5 separate regions of the Homo sapiens genome follow, and regions 2, 3, 4 and 5 are each linked to region 1. Evidence: promoter capture Hi-C in 16 types of primary human blood cells and fetal thymus (Javierre and others, 2016). All regions are on one chromosome and are shown on one strand. Each heading gives the region's core, a stretch centred on a gene start or on the middle of the fragment in contact. The rest is flanking DNA. Distances are from core to core; before and after follow the strand shown.

The links. The method cuts DNA at HindIII sites, captures the fragments that hold promoters and counts their contacts. A CHiCAGO score of 5 or more calls a contact.
Region 2: a fragment that was not itself captured here is called in contact with the fragment with the promoter of KANK2 in region 1 in 1 of 17 cell types (erythroblasts); the score reaches 5.4 in erythroblasts.
Region 3: a contact is called between the fragment with the promoter of CNN1 here and the fragment with the promoter of KANK2 in region 1, in 4 of 17 cell types (M0 macrophages, neutrophils, erythroblasts and 1 more). The highest score is 10.4, in M0 macrophages.
Region 4: a contact is called between the fragment with the promoter of ELAVL3 here and the fragment with the promoter of KANK2 in region 1, in 1 of 17 cell types (neutrophils). The highest score is 6.1, in neutrophils.
Region 5: a contact is called between a fragment that was not itself captured here and the fragment with the promoter of KANK2 in region 1, in 3 of 17 cell types (neutrophils, erythroblasts and M0 macrophages). The highest score is 7.1, in neutrophils.

The regions. Positions count from the first base shown.
Region 1 is chr19:11,195,832-11,200,506 of GRCh38, reverse strand. KANK2 (KN motif and ankyrin repeat domains 2) reads left to right here and starts at 2,962. Exons shown (of 13, transcript NM_001136191.3): 1 at 2,962-3,022. DOCK6 (dedicator of cytokinesis 6) reads left to right here. Exons shown (of 48, transcript NM_020812.4): 47 at 38-199; 48 at 968-1,212. The coding sequence ends at 1,010. RefSeq lists a silencer at 2,479-3,098. The HindIII fragment of the contact is 22,502 bases long and covers 1-4,675 here.
Region 2 is chr19:11,579,534-11,585,418 of GRCh38, reverse strand. It overlaps LOC124904638 (a long non-coding RNA gene), which reads right to left. Exons shown (of 2, transcript XR_007067140.1): 2 at 1,755-2,002. It also overlaps the pseudogene GAPDHP76. Among named protein-coding and RNA genes, the nearest start is that of ACP5, 4.8 kb to the right of the region's middle. RefSeq lists enhancers at 1,325-1,384, 1,395-1,534, 3,436-3,635 and a silencer at 3,135-3,300. The HindIII fragment of the contact is 1,557 bases long and covers 3,499-5,055 here.
Region 3 is chr19:11,535,712-11,541,596 of GRCh38, reverse strand. CNN1 (calponin 1) reads right to left here and starts at 2,746. Exons shown (of 7, transcript NM_001299.6): 1 at 2,607-2,746; 2 at 400-521. The coding sequence starts at 2,669. RefSeq lists enhancers at 1-56, 2,830-3,775 and silencers at 1,721-1,770, 5,199-5,568, 5,579-5,648. The HindIII fragment of the contact is 23,519 bases long and covers 1-5,885 here.
Region 4 is chr19:11,478,056-11,483,940 of GRCh38, reverse strand. ELAVL3 (ELAV like RNA binding protein 3) reads left to right here and starts at 2,895. Exons shown (of 7, transcript NM_001420.4): 1 at 2,895-3,341. The coding sequence starts at 3,333. ZNF653 (zinc finger protein 653) reads left to right here. Exons shown (of 9, transcript NM_138783.4): 9 at 82-512. The coding sequence ends at 259. RefSeq lists silencers at 1,089-1,528, 1,559-1,808, 4,183-4,377. The HindIII fragment of the contact is 20,383 bases long and covers 1-5,378 here.
Region 5 is chr19:11,451,945-11,457,829 of GRCh38, reverse strand. It overlaps ELAVL3 (ELAV like RNA binding protein 3), which reads left to right. Exons shown (of 7, transcript NM_001420.4): 6 at 682-720; 7 at 2,953-5,885. The coding sequence ends at 3,304. Among named protein-coding and RNA genes, the nearest start is that of PRKCSH, 19 kb to the right of the region's middle. RefSeq lists a silencer at 3,779-3,960 and enhancers at 4,824-5,594, 5,519-5,638, 5,669-5,718. The HindIII fragment of the contact is 6,113 bases long and covers 1-5,885 here.

The sequences.
Region 1 (4,675 bases), core at 1,713-4,212:
GCGAGTCTCTGAGCATCTCCCACCCTCTGGCCCTCAGATGTGAGGATGCGCTGCGGAAAAATAAGGCCCTGATTGGGCCGGACCAGAAGGAGTACCACCGTGAGCTGGAGCGCAACTACTGCCGCCTGCGGGAGGCTCTGCAGCCCCTGCTTACCCAGCGCCTGCCCCAGCTGATGGCACCCACCCCACCCGGCCTCAGGTGCCTGACCTAGTGCCCCCATCCTAGAGACTAGAGAGGGGATGCAGAGGCAGACCAGGACAGGTACAGGATGGGGGCTGTTGTACACATACACAGCAACATGTTTGCTGGTAGCTTGGACTTTGTTTTGTTTCCGGTTTTTTTTTTGTTTTTTTTTTTGAGAGACTCTCCCTCTGTTGCCCAGGCTGGAGTGCAGTTGGCACAGTCTTGGCTCACTGCAACCTCCGCCTCCCAGATTCAAGCGAGTCTCCTGCCTCAGCCTCCTGAGTAACTGGGATTACAGGCATCTGCCACCACGCCTGGCTAATGTTTTGTATTTTTAGTAGAGACAGGGTTTCACCATGTTGGCCAGACTGGTCTCGAACTCCTGATCTCAGGTGATCCATCCGCTTTGCCCTCCTAAAGTGCTGGAATTACAGCATGAGCCACCACCACGCCTGGCTGCGGTGGCTTCAATTTTGCATAAGCATCTGAATATGTCATCCAGATGTACAAAGGCAGGGCAGGCTCTGAGCAGTCATTTCCCAGATACATGAATTCATCTTTCTGAGCCTCAGTTTCTACATCTGTAAAATGGGGATGATTCATACCTTCCGTGGTGGACTGCAAGAGAGAATCGGAGAATCCCACAGCCAGATCAGGGACAGGAGAGATCCCAGAAGGATCCTTGGAGGAAGACGAGGAGGAGGAGGAAGAGGATGTGGGCTGGGAGGTCTATGGAGTTGGGGGCCCCATGGCCATGCTGACCCACCCTCATTCTTTTTCCAGGAACTCCTTGAACAGAGCAAGTTTCCGAAAGGCAGACCTCTGAGCCCACAAGGACCAAAGCTGTACCTAGAGGAACCAGCACCCGGGCCTCAGCTGTCTGTGCTGCGAGGGGAGTCTGCCCTGGTGCCCACTGGGCTGTGGGGTGACCACACTGTACTTGGGGCTGGGCCCTCTGCCCCTGTGTCCCCATCTGTGTGCACTGATGCTTCCTCCCTTTTTTAATTTAAAATGGTTTTTATAAGCAACCTGTGCCATGTGGTGCGGTCACTAGGGGCTGGGTCACATGCTCATCACATGCTCACAGTCCACTGCCCCATATCCACACATCCCTGCATCATCAATGGGGACACCAAGAACATACTGGGTGCCAGGGACATCGTGGTGACAACAGGCAAAAATTCCTGCCCTTGTGGAGCTGATGTTCTAGTAGGGAAGGCAACACACAAATAATGTCACATGCTTACCTGCAATAACAATACCTGGTTTTTGTTTGTTTGTTTTTAACAGACGCTCTCACTCAGTCCCCCAGGCTGGAATGCAGTGTCACAGTCATAGCTCACTGCAGCCTCAAACTCCGGGGCTCAAGCCTCCTGAGTAGCAGAGATTATAGGCACATGCCACTGTGCCTGGCTTTTTTTTCTTTTTCTTTTTTTTTTTTTTAGACAGAGTTTCACTCTGTCACCCAGGCTGCAGTGCAGTGGTGCAATCTCGGCTCACGGCAACCTCCACCTCCCAGATTCAAGTTATTCTCATACCTCAGCCTCCCGAGTAGCTGGGATTACAGATGTGCACCACCATGCCAGGATAGTTTTTGTATTTTTAGTAGAGAAGGGGTTTCACCATGTTGGCCAGGCTGGTCTTGAACTCCTGACCTCAGATGATCCACCCACCTCGGACTCCCAAAGTGCTGGGATTACAGGCATGAGCCATTTCTCGGCCCCAGGTGGTTTTTTGTATTTTGTTTTTTGTAGAGATGGCGTCTTACCATATTGCCAAAGCTGGTCTCCAACTCCTTGGCTCAAATAATCCGCCCACCTTGGCCTCCCAAAGTGCTACGATTACAGGCATGAGCCACTGCGCCTGGCCTAATTTTTTTTCACTTAAAAATTTTTTTGCATAGACAGGGTCTTGCTATGTTGCCCAGGCTGGTCTCGAACTCCTGAGTTCAAGCAGTCCTCTTGCCTTGGCCTCCCTAAGCACTGAGATTACAGGTGTGAGCCACCTCGCCGGCTTAATAATATTTATTAAGCCCTTGCTGAGTGGCTGGCTGTGTACTAAAAGGGCTCCCAGAAAGATCTCTGCAAAAGTAGGCCACTCCATTTATGAGAGTTTTTAACCCGAAGGGCCTCCTTCCTGATGGTTAGGCCCCTTCCTAATGGTCAGTGAATCTTCTCAACGCTCCTATCAGGTAGCTAACATGATCATCTCCATTTTACAGATGAATAAACTGAGGCACAGAGCAGCAAAAGTTTGGTGGGTCTGGGATGGGAATGCAGGTCTGGCTGGCGCCGGCGCCCAGGACTCTGCAGCCTCCCTTCTCGCGCGGCGGTCACGCCACCGTGTGCCAGGACTGCGCTGGGCCGCTTCCAGCCCTGGGCCGCCTGGGGGAGGGGTGACCTCCCGCTGCCGCGCCCGCCCCGCGCGCCCTCCCCGAGCTGGGCCCCGGCCAGCTCCACCCCCTCCCGCCGCCGAGCCGTTCCGCCCCCCGCAGCGGCCCAGGGACAGCAGGCGGTGGGGGGGAGGCCGGCAGTGGGAGGACCCTGCCTCGGGGACTTAGGGAGGAAGGAAGGACGAGGCCGGACACCCCGGCGCGCACACACACCTGCTGTCCAGGTGAGATCCAGTCTCCAACCAGCGTCTCTCCATCCCCACCCCCCACCGCGGCCGGGGCGCCCGGGCGGCTGGAGGGGGCGGTGCCGGCTGGGGGGGCGGGACCAGCCGGAGGGGGCGTGGTGCGGGCGGAGCCACCTCCGAGGGCCGGGCGCCCAGGCTGCGGCGCGCGCGAAGACGCTCGGGCGGCGGGACCCAGGGAAGGCAGCGGCCGGAGCGCGCAAGGCGAGTGGGACCCGGGGCTGGGTAGGGGTTCAAGTCTGGTTCGGGGATCGAGTGTGCACCCCCTCCACACACACCTACTACCCTACCCCCCGCCTCCAACCCTGGGACACGACCTCGCTGGTCTCAACGAGCCGCTGCCTCCAACTCCACCTTCTGTGCCCAAACTTTCCAGACTTGGAGTGTCTGTCCCCGCGTCCCTGCCCCCTCCTCGTCTTTGACCCCATACCCCCATCGATTCCTCCCAGTACCCCCCATCGATTCCTCGTGCCCTGCCCGTTTCTCCTGTCTTGGCTCCCCTCTGCCCGCTCTCCCCTGTCTCTGTCCCACTTTCTGCCTCTGTTCCTCCCCGGCTCTGCCCTCTCCCCGCACTGTCCCCCCTCGCCCTCCTCCGCGGCCATGCCCCAGACGGCGGGAAGGCGGCCGGGCGTCCGGCCGGGCTGGGCCTGGGCTTGGCGGCTGGGCCGGCGTGGGGAGCGGCAGCTGTTTGCCATTAGCCCGGGATCCCACAGGCCCCGCCCCCTCTCTGCACGGGGCGGGGTCCTTCTCGCCTCCCCCCACCCCGAGTTTGGGGCGGGAAGACCCCCCCCCACCACCACCACCGACCTCCGCGATGTGCAGGCCGGTCTTGGGTGGTGGGTTGGGGAGACCCGCGCCCCTTCCCTGCGCTCCCTACCTGTCCCCTCTTATAGGCTCCAGTCTCTCCATCTCTGTCTTATCCTGTCACCCCTTCCCCATTCCCCAGGGGTCCCATGGCGAGAGAAGGGTCTCAGCCACAGACATCCATCTCCCCCACCACACCCCCTCGTCTCCTTTCTCTTCCCCTTACTCGGGACGTGCTGGTCCTCATCGAGGGCGGTGAGATGACTGAGTACCCTCAGACCTCAGTCTCCGTATCTGGGAAACGGGTAGAGATATCTGATGTGGAGTCTGAGGGTGGTGGCTTGGTGGGCAGTGGGGGGATCCACCAGGCTTAGGTTCATGTTCAGGCCCAGCCACTTCCCCATGGCCCCAGTGACCCCGAGGAAGCCACTGTACCTTTCTGTACCCTCTGCATCCCCTGTCTGTGAAACGGGGCGATAAGTGCCCATCTCATAGAATTGTCATGACAATTAAAAGAGTTGATGTTAGGCTGGGTGCAGTGGCTCATGCCTGTAATCCCAGCACTTTGGGAGGCCAAGGCGGGCGGATCACCTGAGGTCAGGAGTTCGAGACCAGCCTGACCAACATGGAGAAACACCATCTCTACTAAAAATACAGAATTAGCTAGGCGTGGTGGCAGGTGCCTGTAATCCCAGCTACTCAGGAGGCTGAGGCAGGAGAATCGCTTGAACCTGGGAGGCAGAGGTTGCCGTGAGCTGAGATCGCGCCATTGCACTCCAGCCTGGGCGACAAGAGCAAAACTCCGTCTCAGAAAAAAAAAAAAAAAAGAGTTGATGTTAGTATTACTGTTACTATACTATTTACCCAGCAGCACCCTCACTTCCCCCACCCCCAGCCCACCCCGCTCGGCTATTCCAATCCTGCTCCAATCCCGCTTGCTCCCTGCTTCTCCATCTCTCTTTGGTGGCCAGAAAATATTTTCAATCAACTTTCTGTTGCTCAGGGGTGAGCCTCCAGGCAAATGGAAAACGGAATTTCCTGCAATTGGTGACC
Region 2 (5,885 bases), core at 3,028-5,527, 380 kb before region 1:
ACTTGCCGTGGGTAGAATCATATTGGAACATGTAGACCATGTAGTTGAGGTCAATGAAGGGGTCATTGAGGTGACAACATCCATTCTGCCAGAGTTAAAAGCAGCTCTGGTGCCCTGGTGACCAGGCACCCAATATGGCCAAATCCATTTACTCCTGTCTTCACTTTCACCACGGTGTCTCGGGGACATGCCTTTTTCACTGCATGAAAAGATGTGGCTGTCTGTCAAATGGGAGGAGCAGAGAGGCTCTGCCTTTTTAATCTTTAAGAAAAAAAATTCAGGCTGGGCATGGTGGCTCACGCCTGTAATCCCAGCACCTTGGGAGGCCAAGGCAGGCGGATCACAAGGTCAGGAGATCCAGACCATCCTTACTAACATGGTGAAACCCCGTCTCTACTAAAAAATACAAAAAATTAGCTGGGCGTGGTGGCGGGCACCTGTAGTCCCAGCTACTTGGGAGGCTGAGGCAGGAGAATGGCGTGAACCCGGGAGGCGGAGCTTGCAGTGAGCCAAGATCGCGCCACTGCACTCCAGCCTGGGTGATGGAGCAAGACTCTGTCTCAAATAATAATAATAATAATAATTTAGATGGGGTCTCACTGTGTCACCCAGGCTTGTCTCAAACTCCTGGGCTCCAGTGATCCACCCACCTCAACCTCCCAAAGTGCTGGGATTACAGGTGTGAGCCACCACACCCGGCCTATTATTATTATTTGAGACAGTCTTGCTCTTGTCGCCCAGGCTGGAGTGCAGTGGCACGATCTTGGCTCACTGCAACCTCTGCTTCCCGGGTTCAAGCGATTCTCCTGCCTCAGCCTCCCGAGTAGCTGGGATTACAGGTGGCTGCCACCACGCCCAGCTAATTTTTTTTGTATTTTTAGTAGAGATGGGGTTTCACCTTGTTGGTCAGGCTGGTCTCAAACACCTGACCTCAGGTGATCCGCCCACCTCAGCCTCCCAAAGTGCTGGGATTACAGGCGTGAGCCACTGCTCCTGGCCCTGTCTTTTAATTTTTAAAGGGTAGGGGGCACCATGACCCATCTTTGCCCACCTAAACCACCTATTCAGCAGCCCATGCCCCGCAGCCCACAGCTGGGGGACATCATGCAAAATCTAAGTCAGATCTGTCCCTCTGATCAGAACCCTCTGTGGCTCCCACCTTACCCAGATAAAAGCCCCCTTCCCTGCAGCCCCCAAGAGCACACGCAACCTGCCCCACCCACACCCTTCTCTGTTCCTTGCCCTTGACCTTGCAGACTCAACCTTCCGGATTCACTTCCCCCTTGCTCACTCTGCTCCAGCCACAAAAGCCAATTTTTGGTTCCTCAAATCAAACTAACTCATGACAGCATTTTGAATTTTGAAGCCTTGGGGCCCCGAAAAAGTCCATCTTTTTTTTTTTTTTTTAAGATCGAGTCTCACTGTGTTGCCCAGGCTGGAGTGCGGTGGTGTGATCTCGACTCACTGCAACCTCTGCCTCCCTGGTTCAAGCAATTCTCCGGCCTCAGCCTCCCAAGTAGCTGGGATTACAGGTGCTCGCTGCCATGCCCAGCTAATTTTTTTGTATTTTAGTAGAGAAAGGGTTTCACCTTGTTGCCTAGGCTGATCTTGAACTCCTGAACTCAGGCAATCTGTCTGCCTCAGCCTCCCAAAGTGCTGGGATTACAGGCGTGAGCCACTGCGCCCGGCCCAAAAATCCATCTTTGTGGGTTCCTTTGTAAATGTGTAGTCAATTTAGAAATTTAGAAACACGGTTTCCCTTAAGCCTTTATTTAGTTACAATCACAACTAACATGTTACTTATACACCTGGCAAAGTGAAACATCAAAAAATTAATTCAGGGCCTGGCCTCAGGCCTGTAATCCCAGCACTTTGGGATGCCAAGGCAGACGGATCACTTGAGGTCAGGAGAATCGCTTGAACCTGGGAGACGGAGGTTGGGACGAGCTGAAGATCACACCACTGCGCTCCAGCTTGGGTGACAGAGTGAGTGAGACTCCATCTCAACAAAAAGAAAAAGAAATATCACTTTAAGAGGTCATTGGATGCATATTTGGGTCCGTTTATAAGTTTAGTGGATTGAAATTAACATTTTACATTTTATAAGTGTGATGCATTTTATTCTATACTCTTTTACTACTATAATAATAATTATTATTATTAATTTTTTTTTTGAGATGGAGTCTCGCTCTGTCACCCAAGCCGGATGGAGTGCAGTGGCGCGATCTTGGCTCACTGCAAGCTCCACCTCCCAGGTTCATGCCATTCTCCTGCCTCAGCCTCCCGAGTAGCTGGGACTACAGGCGCCCACCACCACGCCCAGCTAATTTTTTTGTATTTTTAGTAGAGACGGGGTTTCACCGTGTTAGCCATGTTGCTCTCGATCTCCTGACCTCGTGATCCGCCCGCCTCGGCCTCCCAAAGTGATGGGATTACAGGCGTGAGCCACTGCGCCCGGTCAATTATTATTATTTTTTAGAGACAGTGTATCAGCTCTGTCACCCAGACTGGAGTGCAGTGGTGCAATCATGGCTCACTGCAGCCTCGACCTCCTGAGCAATGCTCCCACCTCAGCCTCCTGAGTAGCTGGGCTACAGGTGCACACAACCACGCCCAGCTAATTTTATTTTTAAGAGATGAGGTCTCTACAAAAAGTGTTGGGATGACAGGTGTGAGCCACTGTGCCAGCTTATTCTTTAATCTTTTAATTTATTATTATTATTTTTTGAGACAGAGTCTTGCTCTACCACCCAGGCTAGAGTGCAATGGTGCGATCTCAGCTCACTGCAACCTCTGCCTCCCGGGTTCAAGCGATTCTCCTGCCTCAGCCTCCTGAGTAGCTGGGACTACAGGCACGTGCCACCACACCCAGGTAATTTTTTGTATTTATAGTAGAGATGGGGTTTCACCATGTTAGCCAGGATGGTCTCGATCTCCTGACCTCTTGATCCACCCGCCTCGGCCTCCCAAAGTGCTGGGATTACAGGCATGAGCCACTGCACCTGGCCTATTCTTTAATCTTTTTAAATGTCTCCACCAAGCAAACACCTTGAGAAGTCCTTATCAGTTATTAAAAATCTACAATGCAAACATACAAATAAAAGGAGAACAGTAAGTTCTCTTAAACATTCTGATACTACTTCTAAACTTAGCCAATAAACTGAGAATGAATGTTAATTTTTTAAATAAACAGGCCAGGGGCAGTGGTTCACACCTGTAATCCCAGCACTTTGAGGGGCTGAGTTGGGAGGATTGCTTGAACTCAGGAGTTCAAGAGCAGCCTGGACAAGGTGACAAATCCCTCTCTCTACAAAAAATACAAAAATTAGCTGGGTGTGGTGGTGTGTGCCTGTAGTCTCAATCCCCAGGAGGCCAAGGGGTGTGGGAGGATCCCCTGAGCCCAGAAGGTCGAGTCTGCAGTGAGCCGTGATCGCATCACTGGTCTCCAGCCTGGGTGACTCTGTTTTAGAAAAAGAAAAAAGAAAGAAAAAAAAAGCTTTCATTAACTGAAGACAGACTGAAAGCAAGAGAAACTGAAAGCAAGATAAATGAGTGGGTGGTTTTCTCAAGCACTGGTAAGTGCTGCAGAGAAAACTACAGCAACAGGAGAGTCAATGATGGGGGCAGGGTGGTGCATTTCAGATAATTTCAGATAAATTATCTTTTTCTTTTTTTTTTTTTTTTTTTGAGACAGAGTCTCACTCTGTCACCCAGGCTAGAGTACAGTGGCACGATCTTGGCTCACTGCAACCTCCGCCTCCCAGGTTCAAGCAATTCTCCTGCCTCGACCTCCTGAGTAGCTGGGACCACAGGTTTGTGCCACCACGCCCAGCTAATTTCTGTATTTTTAGTAGAGATGGGGTTTCACCATGTTGGCCAGGCTGGTCTCGAACTCCTGGCCTCAAGTGATCCACCCGGCTTGGCTTCCCAAAGTGCTGGGATTACAGGCGTGAGCCACCACGCCCAGACTCATTTCAGATAAATTAAAGGAACTTGAACACAATGGGTGACCTCAGTATCTGACTAAGGAAGACCCTTCCAGGCAGGGAGAACAGAAAGTGCCAAGACCCTGAGGCCAGAGTGTATCTGAGACAGTCAAGCAATGCGGAGGAGGTCAGAGGAGCAAGAAACAGGGAAAGCAGGATTGGCAGGAGGAAGGAAGGGAAGGGATTGGGTAGAGACAGCAGCGGAGAACAGGACCTGGATGTATTGGCAACAGGAGGAACTCACTCGTGGGGTTGTTGACATCTGAGATTGACACTGGTGTTGGGAAAATAGGAAAGGGTGGAGGTGGAGGGAGATTCTGAGTCACAGCCTGATCTAGCTCCACAGAAAATCAGCAGAAGAGAGTTCTCCTGGGTGAATGGAGAGAGAAGAGCTTATTCAGCACCCTGGAGGAGACCAGAGAGAGATAGCCAAGAACGCACAGGTTTTATTACATGCTCTGTGCAAGATCAGGTTTATTTTTTTCATTGTGCTCTCTCTCTCTCTCTCTCTCTCTCTCTGAGACAAGAGTCTAGCTGTGTTGCCCAGGCTGAAGGTCAGTGGTGCATTCGTAGCTTATTGCAGCCTCAAACTCCCAGGCTCAAGCGATCCTCCACCTCAGCTTCCTGAGTAGATGGAACCACAGGTGTGCACCACCATGCCTGGCTAATTTTTTTTTTTTTTTTTTTTTTTTTTGTAGCAATGTGGTCTCGCCACGATGCCCAGGCTGTTCCTGAACTCCCGGGCTCAAGCGATCCTCCCACATTGGCTGGGTTTACAGGCCTGAGCCACCATGCTTGGCCAGCTTTTTCAATTTAAAAAATATAGAAAGTGTTAATACAAATTAAAAAGTTATAAAATAGTGCCAATAGTATCCCATTTTTCCGAAGACAAACATAGGCAGAGAAAAATTAATGGATACTGTCTCTCTGGGCAGGGGTATTACTGGCTATTATAATCTTTTTCTTCGTGCATTCCAGAATTTACCAACTTTTCTACAAAGATCATGTAGCACAATAAGATAATAAACATAATTTTGTGTGATCTCAAAATACAGGAAGCATAGAAGCTTCCAAAACACGCCTGTACCCACCACGTGAAGAAACAGATGTTAACATTTGGTCATAATTGCTTCAGATTTCTTTCTTTTTTTTTTTTTCTGTTTTTTTTTTGGGGGGGACAGAGTCTTGCTCTGTCGCCCAGGCTGGAATGTAGTGGCATGATATTGGCTCAGTGCAACCTCCTCCTCCTGGGTTGGAGTGCAGTGGCATGATCTCAGTTCACTGCAACCTCTGCCTCCTGGGTTCAAGAGAGCACCTCCAGCTAATTTTTGTCTTTTTAGTAGAGACAAGGTTTTGCCATGTTGCCCAGGCTGGTCTGGAACACCTGACCTCAAGTGATCCGCTCACCTCGGCCTCCCAAAGTGCCAGGATTACAGGTGTGAGACACCACACCGGCTAAATAATAAGTTTTTAAAAAAACAGGAGACTGGCCAGGCATGGTGACTCACGCCTGTAATCGCAGAACTTTGGGAGGCTGAGGTGGGCAGATCACCTGAGATCGGGCATTGGAGACCAGCCTGGCCAACATGGAGAAACCCCGTCTCTACTAAAAATACAAAATTAGCCGGGCGTGGTGGTGCGTGCCTGTAATCACAGCTACTAGGGAGGCTGAGGCAGGAGAATCGCTTGTACCCGGGAGGCGGAGGTTGCGTGAGCCAAGATTGCGCCACTGCACTCCAGCCTGGGCAACCAGAATAAAACTGTCTCAAAAAAAAAAAAAACAAAAACAGGCCGGGCGCGGTGGCTCACGCCTGTAATCCCAGCACTTTGGAAGGCCAAGGTGGGTGGATCACGAGGTCAGGAGATCGAAACCATCCTGGCTAACACGGTGAAACCCCG
Region 3 (5,885 bases), core at 1,497-3,996, 340 kb before region 1:
AAAGAAAACAGAAAGAAAACCAGGGCCTCCTTTAATTATTGCTGCACATCTCTCCTCACATCACCAAGCCAGCCATGAACAGCTGTTGGCTGCTGCCTTTTAGCTGTGACCGCTCTTTCTGGGGACTCTGGCGGCCACAGATGGGCCTACCCTATATAGCATGGTGGTTAAGATTCTAGAGTCATTTCCCTTGAAACCACGTGGGACTTGGTGCAATGCATTTCACCTGAGCCTCAGTTTTCTGTGCCTGTTAAATGGGCACAATGATTACTGGCCACCCCAAAGGTATCCAATAGAAAGTGTTCAACTCAGTTCCAGGATCATGGTTGTTTTGGGGGTTGAGGGGCTGCATGGAGTTGGGGGATGTTGCAGGGTCTCGGCTTCGAGAGCCTCACTCACTCGCAAAGAATGATGCCATCTTTGAGGCCGTCCATGAAGTTGTTGCCGATGCGACGGCCTGTCACCCCCTCGATCCACTCTCTCAGCTCCTGCTCCCGCTGGTGGTCATACTTCTGGGCCAGCTGGGGCGAGGGGAGGGCAGGGGGCACAGAGAAAGGGGTGAGGATGCATTGGGGGCAGCCTGGGCTCCCTGGGTCCTGTCTGAACTTCCTAGAGCCTGATCTCCCTCGTCCTTCCCAACTAAGGCAATTTTGCCCCAGATCCATAGTTGGGGGATGGGGGCTGGGGCGGGCTGAGAGCCAGGGCTGAGGTGGCACCTGCCCAGGGGGCCATTCCGGGCATTCTGAGGTTTGGCACCAGGGAATGTAGATGAGGGGTGGGGTGTGGGGAGCTGGATCCTCTGAGCTAGAGGGGTGGCACCCGGCACCCTGGTTTTTCGCCCAGGCCAAACTTGGGGCTTCTCTTCCTCTAGCCCTGCCCCCTCTGTGCCCCCTGTTGGAAGAGAGGGCACCTCAGGAAGGGAAGAAGGATGTCTAAGGAGGTGTCCCTGGGTGCTGGCTTGCAGAGGAGTGCTGGTCATACATCTCTGTCTCTCCGTGTCCCCCAGGTCTTCAGCTCCAGGGCTCTGTCTCTGGTTAGTGGTGGGGGCTTGTCTCTGTCTTAGCCCCCACCCCTTGCACGTCTGTATGTCTCTCTCCCTCTTATCCCCCCGACTCCTCTGTCTCTCTCTTCCCCAGCGCTGTCTTTTCTTGGCCCAGTCTTGGGTCCCCATCTCTCTAGGTGGCTAGTCCCTGTCTGGCCAGGGGTAGGGCTCCTGGGTCTTGTATATCTGCCTCTCTAGGTCTTTCTCTGTCTCCAGGTTTCCTGCCTGGGGTGGGGGTGGTGGGGCTCTGTCTCCTCTCCCTGCCCCTCCATCCTTGTCTAGGTCTTATCTCGCTCCTGGCTCGCCCTCCCCCGTCTGTCCCTAGGGTGTCTCAGGCTCCCAGTATCTCTGTCTGCCTCTCCCCCCACCTCCCTGCTTTTCCCTCTCTCCACTGTCCCCCCCCTCCCCCACTCCACTCCCATTTCTCCAGAACCCTCCGCCCAAGCCCAGCCAGGCTCCCAGCCCCTAGGGGACCGGGCTGCCTCTTCTTCTCCCGGGTGAGTGGGGGGAGGTGGGAGGGGCGGCCCCCTCACCTGGCCCTGGCCCTGCCGCCCCCCACGCCACCAGCCCGGCTTTATAAAGCAAACCGGCCCTTATATAGCGTGGCCCGGGCTCCCCGAGGCCGCCTTATAAGGCGCGGCGTCTCTGCGCGGCTCTGCGCGGCTCTGGGGCCGGCGCTGGGGGGGAGGAGGGCGGCGCTGGGATCTGTCTCTCGCCCGAGGACCCGCCCCCCACCAGCCCCCTCCTCCAGCCCCGAGATCCCTCGACCCAGGTTCCAACCCAGTCCCCCACTTCCTCACCATGGGACCCTGGGAAAAGCCACCCTGAGCCTCAGTGTTCCCCTCTGTCAAATGGGGCAGGAACTCCTCCCTCGGCAATACTGTTGGGGCGATTCCAGTGGGCTGGAAACTTAAAGTTCTCCAGCTGGGAGAAGCTGAGCCCATCCTGGTGTATGGGGGGTGAGTCCAGGGTCCGAGCGCTGTACCTGCTTTACCTGGGACCCCAGCTATTTGCCTCTCCTCTCCGAACCTCAGTTTACCCAACCATAGCATGAAGGTGGTGTCCAGGTATCTTCCTAGCTCCACAGTCAGGAGACCCCTGCCGCACTTCTGATGCCCGCTTCCTGCCTTTCACCGTCCCCCTCTGTCTTCAGGATCTCCCACACTTTCACGGCGTCACTTCCCAGGTACCCCAGCACTCAAGCGCTCCCCAATTTCTTTGTCAGGCCGGGGGATATGGAAAAATCAACAAGTCTTCCCCCTATGTTGTTCCCCCCAAGAACACGAAGGGTTAACAGAAGACTGATCAGGTGGGTATCTTTGCAATGGACTGACCCCCTCTGTTTATGTGTGGCTGTGTGCCCCCCCATTCCAGCCCCAACCATAGCTGGGGGCTCCGGGATGTTCAGGGGGAGACAGGCAGCCCCTATCCCATATCACTCCCTTTTCCCCTCTCAGTTTCCAAGTCACATAGGATAGGCAGGAGGGGGTTCAAGGGACCCCAAGCTCAGGGCTCTGGCCTGGCAGGACGTGTGGGCCAGGCCAGGGAGGCCCTCCAGCCCTACCTTGTTCTTAACCTCGGCTGACAGCCCGTAGGCAGGGCCTCGGTTGAAGTGAGCAGAGGACATGCTGGCCGGTGGGCTCTGGCGGGGGCAGTGGCGGCACTGACGCTGAGAACAGAGGCAGCGGCTGAAGTTCCGTCTGCACACTCTTCCCTCCTCACATGTTTTTGAAGCTCCGGAGGCGACCCGGGTCTCTTCCAGGGCCGTTCCATTGGCTGTAGGGGCCTGCCAAGGGGCGGGGCACCTCCCCCCACAACCTCAGCTGCCTTCCCCTCCCCTTGTGATGTCAGGCCCTTGGTATTGGGAGCTGATTGTGTCATTGTTTCCACCTAGGGGGGCAGCCTGCGTTATTCTGGGGGGGCTTGGTCAGACAGAGACCAGCCTTCTTCCACCCACCCCTCCCACTGTCCATTGGGCCTCTGGCTGGGTCTGAGTCTCTTTGTCTCTGAGGTCATCTCTCTTTATCTCTCTGGAGTCTTGAAGCAGGACTGACACCCAAGGTAGTTTAGTGAGCACCATCCCGGGTTTATCTCCAGATACCAACAGTCTATAGCCTTAGGTAAGCCCCTTCTCCTCTCTGGGCCTCTATGGCCACATCTGTAAAATGGGCTAACGATAGTGCCTGCCTCATGGGAGAGTTGTAAAGATCAGAAGAATATGCCTGTTACATGCCCAGCACAGTGCCCGGCACAGCAGAGGGACTCGGGCCATAGCAGTCTTTTTAAGGCAAGGTTTCACTCTGTCCCCTCGGCTGGAGTGCAGTGGCACAATCACAGCTCACTGCAGCCTTGACCTCCCAGGCTCAAGTGATCCTCCCATCTCAGCCCATCCAAGTAGTTAGAATTGCAGACTTGTGCCACCAACCTGGCTAATTTTATTTTATTTTTTTAGAGATGGGGTCTCGCTATGTTGCCCGGGGTCTCGCTATGTTGCCCAGGCTGGTCTCAAATTTCTGGGCTCAAGCAATCTGCCCGCCTTGGCCTCCCAAAACGCTGGGATTTACAGGCATGAGTCACCATGCCCAGCCTATAGCATTCTTTATGCTGAGGGTCCAGCACCCCAGTTCTGTCTCCTCCAGCCCCTCATAAGGACCTGGGGGAGAAGAGATCCTGGGTCTCACCCTCCCCATCCACTTGTGTGTCACCTGAACTACAGGGTGACTTTGTTGGCAAGTCCCAGGCCGTGAACTGTGTCCCTGTCAAACAGCCCTACCCAGCCAGATCTCACCCCTGGACCACAGGGGTGGATGCTATGCCCACATCATGCCCCACATGGCAAGGCCATGTTTGTGACACTTGGATGACATGTCTGCAACCTGCCACACACTAATGATATGTTGAGGATATGCAGTTTATCGGTCACATGCTAATGGCATGGCTGCAATATGCCACAGACTACAGCCCTTATGTCAGGCCATGTTCCAACTCTGTACATATATCCATTCAATTCTCATGACGCCCTCAGAGATGGACACTGTTATTATTATTATTATTATTATTATTATTATTATTTGGAGACAGAGTCTCTATTCCCCAGGCTGGAGTGCAGTGATGCTATCTCGGCTCACTGCAACCTCCACCTCCTGGGTTCAAGCGATTCTCCTGCCTCAGCCTCCCAAGTAGCTGGGATGACAGGTGTCTGCCACCACGACTGGCTATTTTTTGTATTTTTAGTAGAGACGGGGTTTTGCCATGTTAGCCAGGCTGGTCTCGAACTCCTGACCTCAGTTGATCTGCCCACCTCGGCCTTGCAAAGTGCTGGGATTACAGGCGTGAGCCACCGTGCCCAGCTGACACTGTTATTATTAATACAAGTACTTTGCTTTACAGGTGGGGAAACTGAGGCACGGGGGCTTGGAATCACTTTTTCAGCGTCACACAGCAGGCCAGGGGCAGAGGAGAATTTGAGACCATGCTCCATGAACCTCAACTATGAGGCTAAGGTGGGGTTTCTCAACCTCCACACTGTTGACAGCTGAGGCTGGATAATTCTTCATGGTTGGGGGGCTGCCTTGGGCATTCATTGTAAGACTTCAAGCAGCATGCCTGGCCTCTACCTGCTACATGCCAGTAGCACTCTCTTAGTCCTAATAAACAGAAATGTTGAGGCACTGCGGCAGGACCCTGTAGTCCCAGCTACTAAGGAGGCTGAGGTGGGAGGATCCCTTGAGCCCAGGAGTTTGAGAACCATCTGGCCAAGATAGCAAGACCATGGTCTCTAAAAAAGAAAAATTAAAAGAAGAAATGTCTACACACATTGCCAATGTCCCATGATTGGGGTCGGGGTGGAAGCAGATCACCCCTGTTTGCCAACCACTGAGCTAAGGCAATGTGCTAGTTGATGGCATGTCATGATATGTTGAACATACACGAAAATACATAAAATACGAGGCCAAGGCGGGAGGATCGCTTGAGCCCTGGAGTTCGAGACCCGAGACCAGCTTAGGCAACATAGCGAGACCCCGTCTCTATTTAAAAAAAAAAAAAAGAAAAAATAGAAAGTACATAAAATGAGCTAACAATTAGCACCTGCTACGTACTAAGAGCTTTGAGCCTGTTAACTCATTCCTCACGACAGCCTTATGAGGTGGGTCTATACGAGGCACAGAGAGGTGACGCCGAATGGCCGGGTCACACAGCTCGAGGGTGGCAGGGGCGGGATTCGAACGCGCAGATTCCTGGATCCCTCCCAAACTGAGCGGCCCTCGGGGGCCGCAGTTCGCTACTGCGCATGTGAGGACCTGCAGCCGGCGCCCCCTGGCGGCCCGGGAGGGGCGGGGGCGGGACCTGGCGAGGTCCAGGCGGCGGTGACGTCACGCGATGACTCACTCGGCCCCGCCCCCCGGCCCGCGGCCTCTTGGCCATTTATAGAATCTGCACGGACTCTGAAGTCACGGCCCAGGCACGACGGGGGCGGGGTGGGGGAGCTCTTGGCGTGCCCCCCAACGGGGCAGCCCCGGGTACCCCCAGGGGGCAGCCCTTTCGGGGACTGCCTTGTCCCTCTGATTGTAGTAGGTCTGTGTCTCTGTATCTCCGTCTCTGGGTCGCTGAGCCTTTTTCTGTCTCTGCCTTTGTCTCTGTGTCTCTGTTTCTGTGCCTGGTCTTTGAGTCATTCTGTTTCTCTTCATGTCGCTGTCGCTGTATTGTCCGTCTCTCTTCGCGTCTCTGTCTGGTAGATGGGGGTAGAGGCATTAGAGGGGGCTGATCCCATATCGAGGCCCCAATCCCAGTAGACACCCGAGTGTCATCCCTTATTCGCTCCTTTCTGGCATTTTCCAGGCTC
Region 4 (5,885 bases), core at 1,646-4,145, 280 kb before region 1:
CCACCTGCGCTCGGCCTTGTAGGGCCCCGCCCCGCCCCGCCCACTCTGACCCCGCCCCGTCCCGCCACGGGCTCCCGGCAGGTGCGAGATCTGTGGCTACCAGTGCCGGCAGCGCGCGTCGCTCAACTGGCACATGAAGAAGCACACTGCGGAGGTGCAGTACAACTTCACGTGCGATCGCTGCGGGAAGCGCTTCGAGAAGCTGGACAGCGTCAAGTTCCACACGCTCAAAAGCCACCCGGATCACAAGCCCACCTGACCCACCTGACCACTGACCGCCCCTATTTATTCGTCCGCTCGGACACCACGCCCGGGCTTGCCGGGGCCTGGACAGCTGCGAGGGCCGCCCGGACCGCGGGCCGGAAGGAGGCGCCCCCGCCCCGCCCCAGAGCTGGGCCCCCTGGGCAGGTTCCCCACCCCGCCCCACCGCATCCTTCTCGGAGCTGGTGCCTGGGGCTGCATTGCTGGAACTGTGTCAAGAGAGCAGAGTGAGATTAAAGAGCGAGAAAGGAGATGCCCTTCCCCTAGGCCTGAATGATTTGGGGTGCCAGGCCCCTCTCTGTCTCCAGCCTACTTGATCCCTTCCTAAGCGAGGCAGGGAACGAGGGATGCCCCTGGGCCCAGCAGCCTCGCACAGCCCCTGCTCCCACAGGATGGGGTGAGGCTTGGGGGTCTGGGGTCTCTGGGCATCTCCCGGAACTCAGGACCCTAATTTCCACTTCCTCCTGTTTTATGGGGCACCCATCTCCCACCCTCAGTGAGCTCCGGGATGAGATGGGGAGGTGTTCAGTAAACCCCTAAAATGAGAAACATTTGCAGCTAGCGACAAGCGCCATGCAAAAGAGAGAGTGATGCGTTGTTTTCCGGGGATGCTGTTTAGGTCGGTGGTCAGGGAGGGCCTCTGAGGAGGTGGCATTTGCGCATAGACCAGAATGACAAAGATCTATCCCAGAAGAAAGCTGGGGGAGGAAATTCTCAGGCCAGAGGAACAACCAGTGCCAAAACCCCGAGGTAGAACTAGCTCGGCGTGTTCCTAAAACAGGAAGCCGCGGGGGGAAGGGGAGTTGGCGGCGGCTGCCCTGGCCCCATTTCCCGGAGGAGGATGCTGAGGCCGCCGCCTCCTGCGGGCCGCTAGAGAGAGGGGCGGGGAGCGAGGCGCGGCCGCTAGGTGGCGTGCGAGGCGCGTAGGCCCTGGTGGCCGCAGCCACGTGACCCTGGGGACCGCAGCCGCGAGCTCAGGCACGTGCCCGGGGGAGCCCTGTGGCGCCACGCGCAGATTGGCCCCGCCGGTTCCTCACCAGTTCGGGGGATGAGGCGGGGCCCCAGCTATGCCTCAGTTCCTGCTGCGGACCGGGGGGCTACCCCAGCCGGGGACAGAAGAATCGGCAAGGATGAGCGAGTCCGGCCGCTGGGGCCGCCCCCGCGAGCTCCCTCCCCCCGCGAGGCAGGTCCCCTCCACTCTCCCCGCACTGCCGGAGCCGGCAGGTTTCCATGGGAACCGCAGCGGGGTCCGCGCGCCCAGGAGCAGCCCCCCTCCTAGCTCAGTTTCCGATGACGGAAACCGGGAGGAACACGGGGTGGGGAACAGACCATCGCTTGGGGCCCCTAGCGCCCGCAGCCAGGTCGCCCCGGCGAGCCCAAGAGGGGCCACCCGGGGATCTGCACCGCCACCGCCCCTATTGCGCGGGCCACTGCGATTGGCCTGCCCTTTCCAGGCGTGGCAGCATCCCCTGGTGCGCGCACTCCCATTGGCTCGATCTCTAGGGCATCTTCCAGTAACTGGTTATCTCAAGGGCCGCCCCTGATTGGGCAAATTAGGCTCTCCTCGCTGGTGGCGCTCTCTGACAGTCTGGAGCCTAAAGGGCGTGCAGGAACGAGGATTGGGTGGGGACTGCCGCTCTCCAGTTAGGGGGTCTGGGCTACCTCGCCGGCAGCGCCCTCGACCGGACTGTCGGATTGCTGTCTGTGGTGCTGAAGCCTCACGCCCTGGCGACCCCGCCCCAGTGTGTGCTAGTTCCCGCGCCCCGACGTAAACATGCACCGGCGCCCGCGCACCAAAGGAGGCTGCGCCACCCCCAACGCCTTAGAGAGAGGCCAGGTTCCCCCTAGCAGAGAGCGAGCATGACTCCACAGTCAGGAGGACCAATCACGAGCCTAGAAAGCCAGGACATTTATGTGGCAGATCCACCCACCCCAGTTCTGTGGGGTCCAAGAAGGATCCGTGGTTTCCCAGAGCTGCATGGCTCCAGCGATGATTGTCCAGAACACTGAGCCCCAAACCTTTTCACCCCCTTCGGAGCAGTGCGGAGTTTCCTTGCACTGGGGAGTGCCAGTCCTTACCTTTTGAACCCTAGAAGGATCCAGCTCACTCAAAACCAACAGCGTCCCAGTCTCCTTCTGCAGAAGACTAGGGCCACAGTAGCCACCCTCCCCCGTGGTCTTGAGGTGGTCTACACTGGTGCCTCCAAATCTGGGGACCCAGGCCTCTGCCTACTAAAATATTGGTTCCTGATCCCCTGTCCAGTTCCCTCAGTGGACAACACCTCTGGAAGGTCGCATATTCAGGCCACTAATACCTCCTCGCTCTGTTGGCTCCTCCAGCTCTAGGAGCTGGACGGAGGAGGGGAGCCCGTCTCCTGGCCCGAAAGCCAGCCCAAGAAGGGGTGCCAGGGTAGGAAGCAAGGGCCTCGAGGGAAGGAGGGCCCAAATCTGGCAACCCGAGCACCTAGGATGCGCTTTTGGGGGATTCAGAGTCCCGACCAGTGCGCGCTCACTTCCACCTGCCGCGCCGTCGGGAGCCGCGAGGAGGCGGAGCTCGGTCGCCGCAGCCAATGAGCGACGCCGGCGCTGGCAGCTGCTGCTATAAAGGGCTGGGGGCGGCGGCGGCGCGGTCCAGAGCGCGGAGCGCGCAGCGCGGGCCGGAGGGAGGGAGGGAGGGTGGGCGAGGGGAGAGGACTTGAACACACGGGACCGGACAGGACCGACCGAGGGGCGGCGGCGAAAGGCAGAGCGCCGCGATCTCTGTCGGGAAGCGCAACCTCCCCGGGCCCCGCGGGGCCGCGCAGGGGGCGTCCTCAACCCCGCGCCCGCTCCCTCTTTCCATCCCCTGCCGCCCGCAGGCCACCCCGGGGCCCGGCCATCCGCGCGCGCATCCCCGGGTTCGGGCCCGTCCCTGGCCCTCGAGGGAGCCGCCGCCTTCATCGCCACATCTGCAGCGGCCGCACCAGAGGCCGCCCGGGCGGGACCCCAGCGTGAGCATCGGGCGCCCCCCTAGGAGTGCACCACCCCCGGAGCCCCCCTCAACACGGACCGCGCCCGCCGGGCACACAAGAATGGTCACTGTAGGTATTCCCCTGTCGCCGAAAGGGAATCGGGACGGGGAGGAGTTGGGCCCAGGCTCCGCGGAGATTGGGCGGGTGCGGCGGGGGGGGTAGGACCAGGCCTAGCTAGGCCCGGGTTGGGGGGGTAGGACCAAGCCTCGGGGCCTGAGAGTGGGCAGGGCCGCGCCCAGAGTGCTGAGGGCGCTTAGAGCTTGGTCTGAGAGGGCCTTAGGGAGACTGACTGCGATTCGGGAGGCGTCCGACGCCGCCCTGGAGGCGGGATTGCCCCCTCTCCAGCAGGCCTGATGGGGGAGGGGCCGCGGCGGCTAAGGATGCTTCCTCCATCCAGGCCCAGACCCCGCAGGCCGCCCAGGCAAACGCAGGGCCCGATCACTGGTGCTGGGCCAAGCCAAAGCGACAAAGCGTCCCCGAGAGCCCTGGGAAAGCGGGTGGCGTCGGATCGCGCGCCCCGGGCCTCGGCCGCACCCGGGAGGCGGGCGTCTCGTCCTCGAGCCCGTCGACCTTGCGGCAAGCGGGGAGGGGAGAGGAGGGGGCGCGCCCGGAGGCCCCGCGGGCCCGCCGCCGCTGCTGCCGCGTCCCTTTGTTTCTCGGCGCTTCTTCGCGGGCCGCAGCCTCGCGCGGGCGCCTCGGGCTGCGGGGAGGGGGAGGGGAGAGGAGGGCCCGCGGGTTGGGGGGGCACCTCTGGGCTCCCGGGTCTCCGCCCCCCGGGAGATGGGGTGGGAGGCCGAGACAGCCCCCTTAGGCCAGGTCCAGGCTCCCCACCTCGCCAAGGCTCTGGGCCGCGAGGTGACCTTGAGCGCGGCCCGCCCGCCTGCTCGCCCGCACCGCTAGCCCCGCGCTCGGTGCTTTCAGCAGCCACGGAGCTGGTCAGCTCCCGAGCGCGCAGCCCCTCCCGCCCTGCCACGCCCTGCCTGGCCACGCCCGGGCACGCCCATCTAGGCCCCGCCCCCAGGGCCCCGGGGGCCCGGCCTCGCCCGAGCCCTCGGATTCCCACTCGGCAGCCCGGGCGTATCCCGGGGGCGGGGCTGGCCAGTTATAGCCCCACCCCGGCTCCACCCCCGCCCCTGCCGCGCGACTCCGCTCCCCGCGCCGCCGCGCGTCCTTTGTCTGGTCCCGGCGCCTGGGCCTCCCTCTTCCACTCTTCCTATCTCTCCGTCTCTGCGTGTGTGTCTCTGTGCATTGTGTCTCTTTCCGGGCCCCTTTTTCGAGTCGTGGCTAGCACTGGGGGTGGGGGCATGATTGGCGCTCCCTCCATGCCTAAGCCTCTCCCCTCCTGGACCCTGGGACCCGCCCACCTGGCTCTGAGAAATGAGGTCCCGGAGGCCTGGCTCACCTGCTGTGTGACCTCAGGCCGTTCCTTTCCCTCTCTGGGCCTCGTGCTGTTCACCCAGGTCTGGGAACTGGAGTGTGGCCTCCTGAGGACCTCAGAACTCCCGCAACAGTCCAGCATCTCCTAAGCGTCCTCTGATCGGTTCTCTCATTTGAAAAAGGAAACTAATGCACAAAGGGAAAGAGGGTGTGGTCAGAGGTCACACAAGGGCCTTGAGGACCTAGGTTCTCCAGTGAGCGAGCCCTGGGGCAGAGATGTATCATGGGGACAGGCTGGGAGGAAGAGAGGTGACAAATTAAGACCAGGAGGACCCTGCATTGAAGAAGGGCCCAGAAGTAGGAGGCTCAGTCAGCACCACGTGGTAGCCCAGCCTCACCATGCATAGCCACTCAATGCCCTATTGTCGCCGGTATCCAGGCATCTGTCACTGTGACTGGGGCCAGGGGCCGCAGCTGGGGGCCGTGGGGGTCAGACACAGGAGGTTTTAAGAAAAAAGTGGCCTCAGGTGTGTTCACTGCAAAACCCATACGTCAGATGTATGTGCGATGGTGGAAAAGAGGAAGAGAGAGTGATGAGGCCAGGGACACAGAACGGTTCAGAGAGAGGGCAGGACAGTGGAGAAGAGAGGGAAACAGAGGAAGAAAGAGGGAGAGAGAAACCAAAAGTCGGGGGAGACTTAGAAGAAGCACTGGAGAGAATGGGAAGCTTCCCTAACCCTCCATCTTTTATCTGCCCTCCTCCTCCCTGACTTTGCCACCCCCCCATCTCTGTCTGGGGCCAGTCGCCGAAGTCCCTTTGATGCCCATGTAGCCACCATCCCAGGCTGTGCACTTACTGCAGGCTGGGGCAGGGCGGGTGTGGCTTCCATCAATCTGATCCCCATTATCAGCTCAGCCGGCTCAGCCACAGAGGAAACGAGATACTGGTCCCGCTAAGCTCTGGCACAAATGGGAGGGAGAACGGGTGGTGGCCAGATTAGCAGGCTAGGCCTCAAGAACCTGGGTCTGAACCACCCAGTCACCTCTTCACTCTGCTCAGGTTGGGGACACCATGGGAGGGGGGCAGCCAGTAACTCTTTCGGCTCTAGGGTCATCGGATCAGGAGTCAGATGTTGACACCATCCCCTCCACCTCCTCCTGTCACCCTGGACAAGTCATAGGTCCCTGTGACTAACCCTCAGTGTCCCCATCTGAGAAATGGAGGAGACCCTTCAT
Region 5 (5,885 bases), core at 1,625-4,124, 260 kb before region 1:
GTTCCAGCTCTGGTGGCCCCTTTCTCTTTTGGGCACGTGGCTGTAGCTCTGTGCCTCAGTTTCCCATCTGTAATAACACCAAATATTTCATGAGTCTTTGCTGTGTGCTAGACACCCTTATTTTTCTGCAACCCGATGAGAACAGAGCTTGTGTTGTCCCTGTTTTATGGACGGGGACCCTGAGGCACAGAGAGGTGTTGGGGTTTGCCTGGCCCAAACAGAGCAGAGACTCAAACCCAGGACCTGGAGTCCAAGCTCATAGCCACTCCAAGGGGAGACAATGGAAGCCCCTTGTGGGCCCCCGGGTGGCCGGGGCAAGTTACCCACCCCCTCAAGTGCTGCGAGAATGTTGGCTGTGGTAGTTACTGTCGCCTTTGTTAGGAGTTATCTTTCCCCAGGGATCCCAGCGCCTGGGCCCAGAGGGGACCCGCCAGCCAGGAGGGGGAGGATGGATGAGGAGGCCAGTGCAGGCTGGACAGCGGTGGGGCAGGCGAGAGGCGGTGCCTGAGTGACCACGGTTCCGTGCCAGGCAGTGTCTAGCCGGGCGGGCGGGGAGCAGGCAGGCGGGGGCAGGGCTCTGCTGCAGGCCTGTTGGGTGGGGGTGGGGAGGGCAGGCCGACGGTGTCACAGCAGGGGGGCGTGACTGGAAGCCACCTCTGACCACCACCTCTGCCTCCACAGGCTGGACAATTTGCTCAACATGGCCTACGGCGTCAAGAGGTAACAGTGACCCCGCCCCACTGTCCCCACCCCTCACCATCCATGCCCCTGATGCACCCCTCCCCAGCTCACCCCCAGGGCTGCAGGCTTAGCCTTGTTTGCCTGGGTCTTGGAGTAGCATGGCCATTGAGAGATGTGACATCAAAGCCAGACGTGGTGGTTCTCGCCTGTGCTCCCAGTGTTTCGGGAGGCTGAGGGGCAAGGAGCACTTGAGGCCAGGAGTTCAAGATCAGCCTGGGCAACATAGTGAGATCCTTCTCTACAATTTTTTTTTAAGGATTAGCCTGATACGGTGGTGCATGCCTGTAGTTCAGGCTACTCAGGAGGCTGAGGCGGGAGGATCGCTTGAGCCTAGGAGTTGGAGGCTGCAGTGAACTATGATGGTGCCACTGCACTCCAGCCTGGGTGACAGAGCGAGACCTTATCTCCAAAAATTAAAAAATGTGGCTGGGCGCGGTGTCTCATGCCTGTAATCCCAGCTACTCAGGAGGCTGAAGCAGGAGAATCGCTTGAACATGGAAGGAGGAGGTTGCAGTGAGCTGAAATCGTGCCACTGCACTCCAGCCTGGGCAACAAGAGCGAAACTCCATCTCAAAAAAAAAAAAATAATTAAAAAATGTAAAAGAAGATCTCAGTCTGAGTCTAGTGGGGGAGGAGACAGAGAAATGAATGGTGATGAAAGCTGTGAAGTAGAAGGGGTAACAGAGGCCGGGCGCGGTGGCTCACGCCTGTAATCCCAGCACTTTGGGAAGCCGAGGCAGGCGGATCACGAGGTCAGGAGTCCAAGACCAGCCTGGCCAAGATGGTGAAACCCCATCTCTACTAAAAATACAAAAATTTAGCTGGGCACGGTGGCAGGCGCCTGTAATCCCAGCTACTCGGGAGGCTGAGGCAGAGAACTGCTTGAACCCAGGAGGCGGAGGTTGCAGTGAGCTGAGATCGTGCCACTGCACTCCAGCCTGGGCGACAGAGTGAGATTCCGTCTCAAAAAGAAAAAAAAAAAAGAAGGGGTGACGGAGACCCAGCAGCAGAGACCCCCCAGTCCCATCTGAGGCAACATCCACACAAAGGCAGAGTGGAAAGGGAGTTCCTAGCAGTGGGAAAAGCCTGTGCAAAGAGGGCCAGAAGGAGCGAGTAGTTTGTTCCTCGTGGTCAGGATTGAATGGTTCAGGCCCTTGGGTCCTCCCTTCCCAGCTGAGGGGTTTAATCCAAGGGCGGGATTGCCAGTGAGGAATGTGAGTGGAGCCAATTCTGTCCTTTCATTAATTCATTCAACAGACACCTCCCAAGTGCTTACTAGGTGTTGTTCAGGGGCTGGAACAAACTCTTGCAGGGAAGATGAAGTTGATGATAATAAATATATGATTTGAAAAGGAAAGCCGGGTGCAGTGGCTCACACCTGTAATTTCAGCACTTTGGAACTCCAAGGTGGTAGGATTGCTTGAGCCCAGGAGTTCGAGACCAGCCTGGCTAACGCAGCGAGACCCCACCTCTACAAAAATTTTTAAAAATTAGCGGGGCATGGCTGGGTGCGGTGGCTCATGCCTGTAATCCCAGCACTTTGGGAGGTCGAAGCGGGCGGATCACCTGAGGTCGGGAGTTCGAGACCAGCCTGATCAACATGGAGAAACCCCATCTCTATTAAAAATACAAAATTAGCTGGGCGTGGTGGCAGGTGCTACTCGGGAGGCTGAGGCAGGACAATCGCTTGAACCTAGGAGGCAGAGGTTGCAGTGAGCTGAGATCATCCCACTGCACTCCAGCCTGGGCAACAGAGCAAGACCCCGTCTCAGAAAAAAAAAAAAAAAAATTAGTGGGGCATAGTGGTGCACCTGTAGTCCCAGCTACTTGGGAAGCCAAGGCAGGAGGATTGCTTGAGCCTGAGAGTTCGAGACCAGCCTAAGCAACATAGTGAGACTGTGTCACCACAAATCATAAAAAAAATTAGCTGGGTGTGAGGGCGCCTGCCTACAGTCCCAGCTGCTCAGGAGGCTGAGGCGGGAGGTTTGCTTGAGCCCAGGAGGTCAAAGCTGCAGTGAGCCATGATTGCACCACTGCACTCCAGCCTGGGTGACAGAGCGAGACCGTGTCTCTAAAAAAAAAAATTGCATTGCAGGGGTCACACCATTCCAAGGTCATGGCACAGTCAGGGGTCATAAAGGTGTGAAGGGTCACAACGGGGTCAGAAGCATGCGGGGGGTCAGGGCAGAGCCCGCGTGACCCCCAAAGTAGTCCCCTGTCGCTCATCGCCAGGTTCTCGCCGATCGCCATCGATGGTATGAGCGGCCTGGCGGGCGTGGGCCTGTCGGGGGGCGCGGCGGGCGCCGGCTGGTGCATCTTCGTGTACAACCTGTCACCGGAGGCAGACGAGAGCGTGCTGTGGCAGCTGTTCGGGCCTTTTGGGGCAGTCACCAACGTCAAGGTCATCCGTGATTTCACCACCAACAAGTGCAAGGGTTTCGGCTTCGTGACCATGACCAACTATGACGAGGCGGCCATGGCCATCGCCAGCCTGAACGGCTATCGCCTGGGCGAGCGCGTGCTGCAGGTCTCCTTCAAGACCAGCAAACAGCACAAGGCGTGAGCCCACCCCGCCTGCCCTCCCACCCCCTCCCCGGGCAGCAGAGAGAGAGAGAGAGAAAGAGAGAGAGAGAGAGAGAAGGGGCCCAAGAGAGACAGCACAGGCAGCCCCACGGACGACGCGAGGGCCCCACGTCCCTGCGGAAGCCACAGGGTGAGCACTCTGGGGTGGGAGGGTCTGCAGGGAATTGGGGGGGTGCCCGGGGATCCCCCGCCCCATCCTCCTGCCCCCACCCCAGGCTGGGCTGTTCACTCTCTCGTCTTGGTTTGGTTCATGGTGAAGGTTTTTGTTTCTTTTTTCGGCTAAAAAGAATGCAGAGATGTGCCCCCACCCCCACCCTCGACCACCCCCGATGGGATGGCTTGGGGGGCTCCAGGGGGTGCCCTCCCAGACCCCCTTGCCCAGGCCTCCCCAGCACCTAGGTGGGGCCTGGGGTAGGAGGAACAGGTTTAAAAATCCCCAAAAAAGCGAACCGTGAGGAGGGGTGTGGGCACCCCCGGCCCAGTGCCCCCTGGTGGAATGCGGGGGAGCAGGCAGTGGGGCTGGAAGCAGAAACAAAATGAAAAAAAAAGGGGGGTGGGAGGGGAAGAAAAACTCTATTTTTGTAAAAAGGGAAAAAGACCTCGTGGAGAATTTTTACTGGGGATTCTTGAACTTGAAAAAAAAAAACACAAAAAAAGACAAAAAAAAAAAAAGAAAATATTTTGGCAGGTTATGTTTACCAACTGGGGCGGGGGTGGGGGGGGCCCAGGGAGCAGGGCTTAGGGGCTAGCAGCCCACGGGGCCACACAGAGAAACAACCACGCAGACAGTCACACCACGGGGACACACGGACAGACGCAGACGGACACAGCGACATGCCCCAGACACGTTAAGGGACTGGTTGGCCAAACTCAGACACGTGGACAGGGATAGACAGAAAGAGACAGAAGCTGGGGCTACGTCCATGTGGACACAGACCACAGATGTGGGCACACGAATCCATCCACCTGTCCACGTGCACACGTGAATGTAGCGATAGATATTTGGACATCAAATTTGGACACCAGGTCACGGAGAAACACAAACACCACCCAGGAACACGCAGACATATGCCCATAGCATCCCACAGGCCCAGGCAGGAGGTCCCACCCCAGACCCTGCCCCAGACGCTCCCTCACCCTCTCGGCCCCCTCGCCCTGGCCCCCAGGTTCTCTGCAGAGATCTCTCCTGGACCCCCAGCGGTCTCCTTGGCGCCCACGAACACAGGCGTGCACACGCAGCGCACATGCATTGAGACACACGATACCTCGTTCCACCTTGGCGTCACGGTGGGCTGGAGGCAGCCCCCCCCCCCACAACACTTGAGGCCAAAGGACACCCCTGTCCCCGGGGCTCAGCCTCCCCCTGGGCCGAGGCCTTGGCCCACACAGCTGAGGGAGAGGCCCAGCCCTGAGCCTCCCCCACCAGGACTGGGCCTCCCCGGCAGCAAGACCCCGGCACTCCCCGCCAGGCCCAGGGTGGGGTGGATGGGCCCAAAGGCCCAGCCCCACACTCCTTTCCCGTCCACTTGTCACCTACCTATCCCCTTTCGGTTTGTTGGGTTTTTCGTCTTTCCAGATTGCAGTGGACACAGCCCCCGATCTCGAGCCCCGGCCCCCGGCTTCTGTCTGGACATTGCATCGCCCTAGTTTTCTTTCTTTAAAAAAAAAAAATTCCAACAGAAGCCACAGGCCGGAGCCCCTGGGAGCCCTCGCACCGCTCCCCACCCCACTCAGCGGCCCCATCGGAACTGAGAATTGCAAAACCCCCGACTTTAGCTATAGTTAAGTTGCCTTCCCCCGGTGTCCCCACGTTTGGTGTCTGGCTATGGCGCCCCCATCTGACTGTCCAGCTCTCTCTCCCCCACCCCTCCCGGTGTTGTTATTAAACGTCTGTGGAGCTTCTGCTGCAAGGAACAAAAAAGAAAAAAATCAAAAAAGCGACAAAAAAACACAAACAGAAGAGGAAAAAAAAGCAACAAAAAAAGAAAACACACAGAAGAGATTTAAAAAAAAAAAAGGAAAAAAAAAAAAGACATAAACTGGCACCAGTTAACTTTCTTGTACTTTTTTGCTGAATTTAGCTTCTTGTAGTTTTAACTTATTGCTATGTTAACTATTTATTCTCCTCGTTGCCCTGTAAGGACATCCGTGTATATTTCTGTTACTTCATCCGGTTTGCAAGTTAAAGGAACGACAATGTTCTCTTTGTTTCTTTAAGTTTTGCCGAGACATGGTTATGCCTAATTTATTTATAAAAGGGGAAGTGGAATCATTAAAGTAATAATAATTATTAATAACAGTAATGGTAGCCGAGTGGCACGCGGGGGCGTGTGCTCTGCGGGACAGTCCCCACGGCCAGCGACGTCCAGGTCACCAATGGGATTCTTTTTGCTCTTGTCTTGAGAATTTTTTCAGTCCTATTTAGCTGGTGAAATCCCTAGCTTGTTCTTGATACACGAACCTATTTATTCTCGTGGTTTTAAGTCCTCCCTGCCCTCTCTCCTCTCCCCTGCAGCAGGGCAGGGACCCCTCTCCCCTGCTGTCTCTTGGGGCTCTCTCCC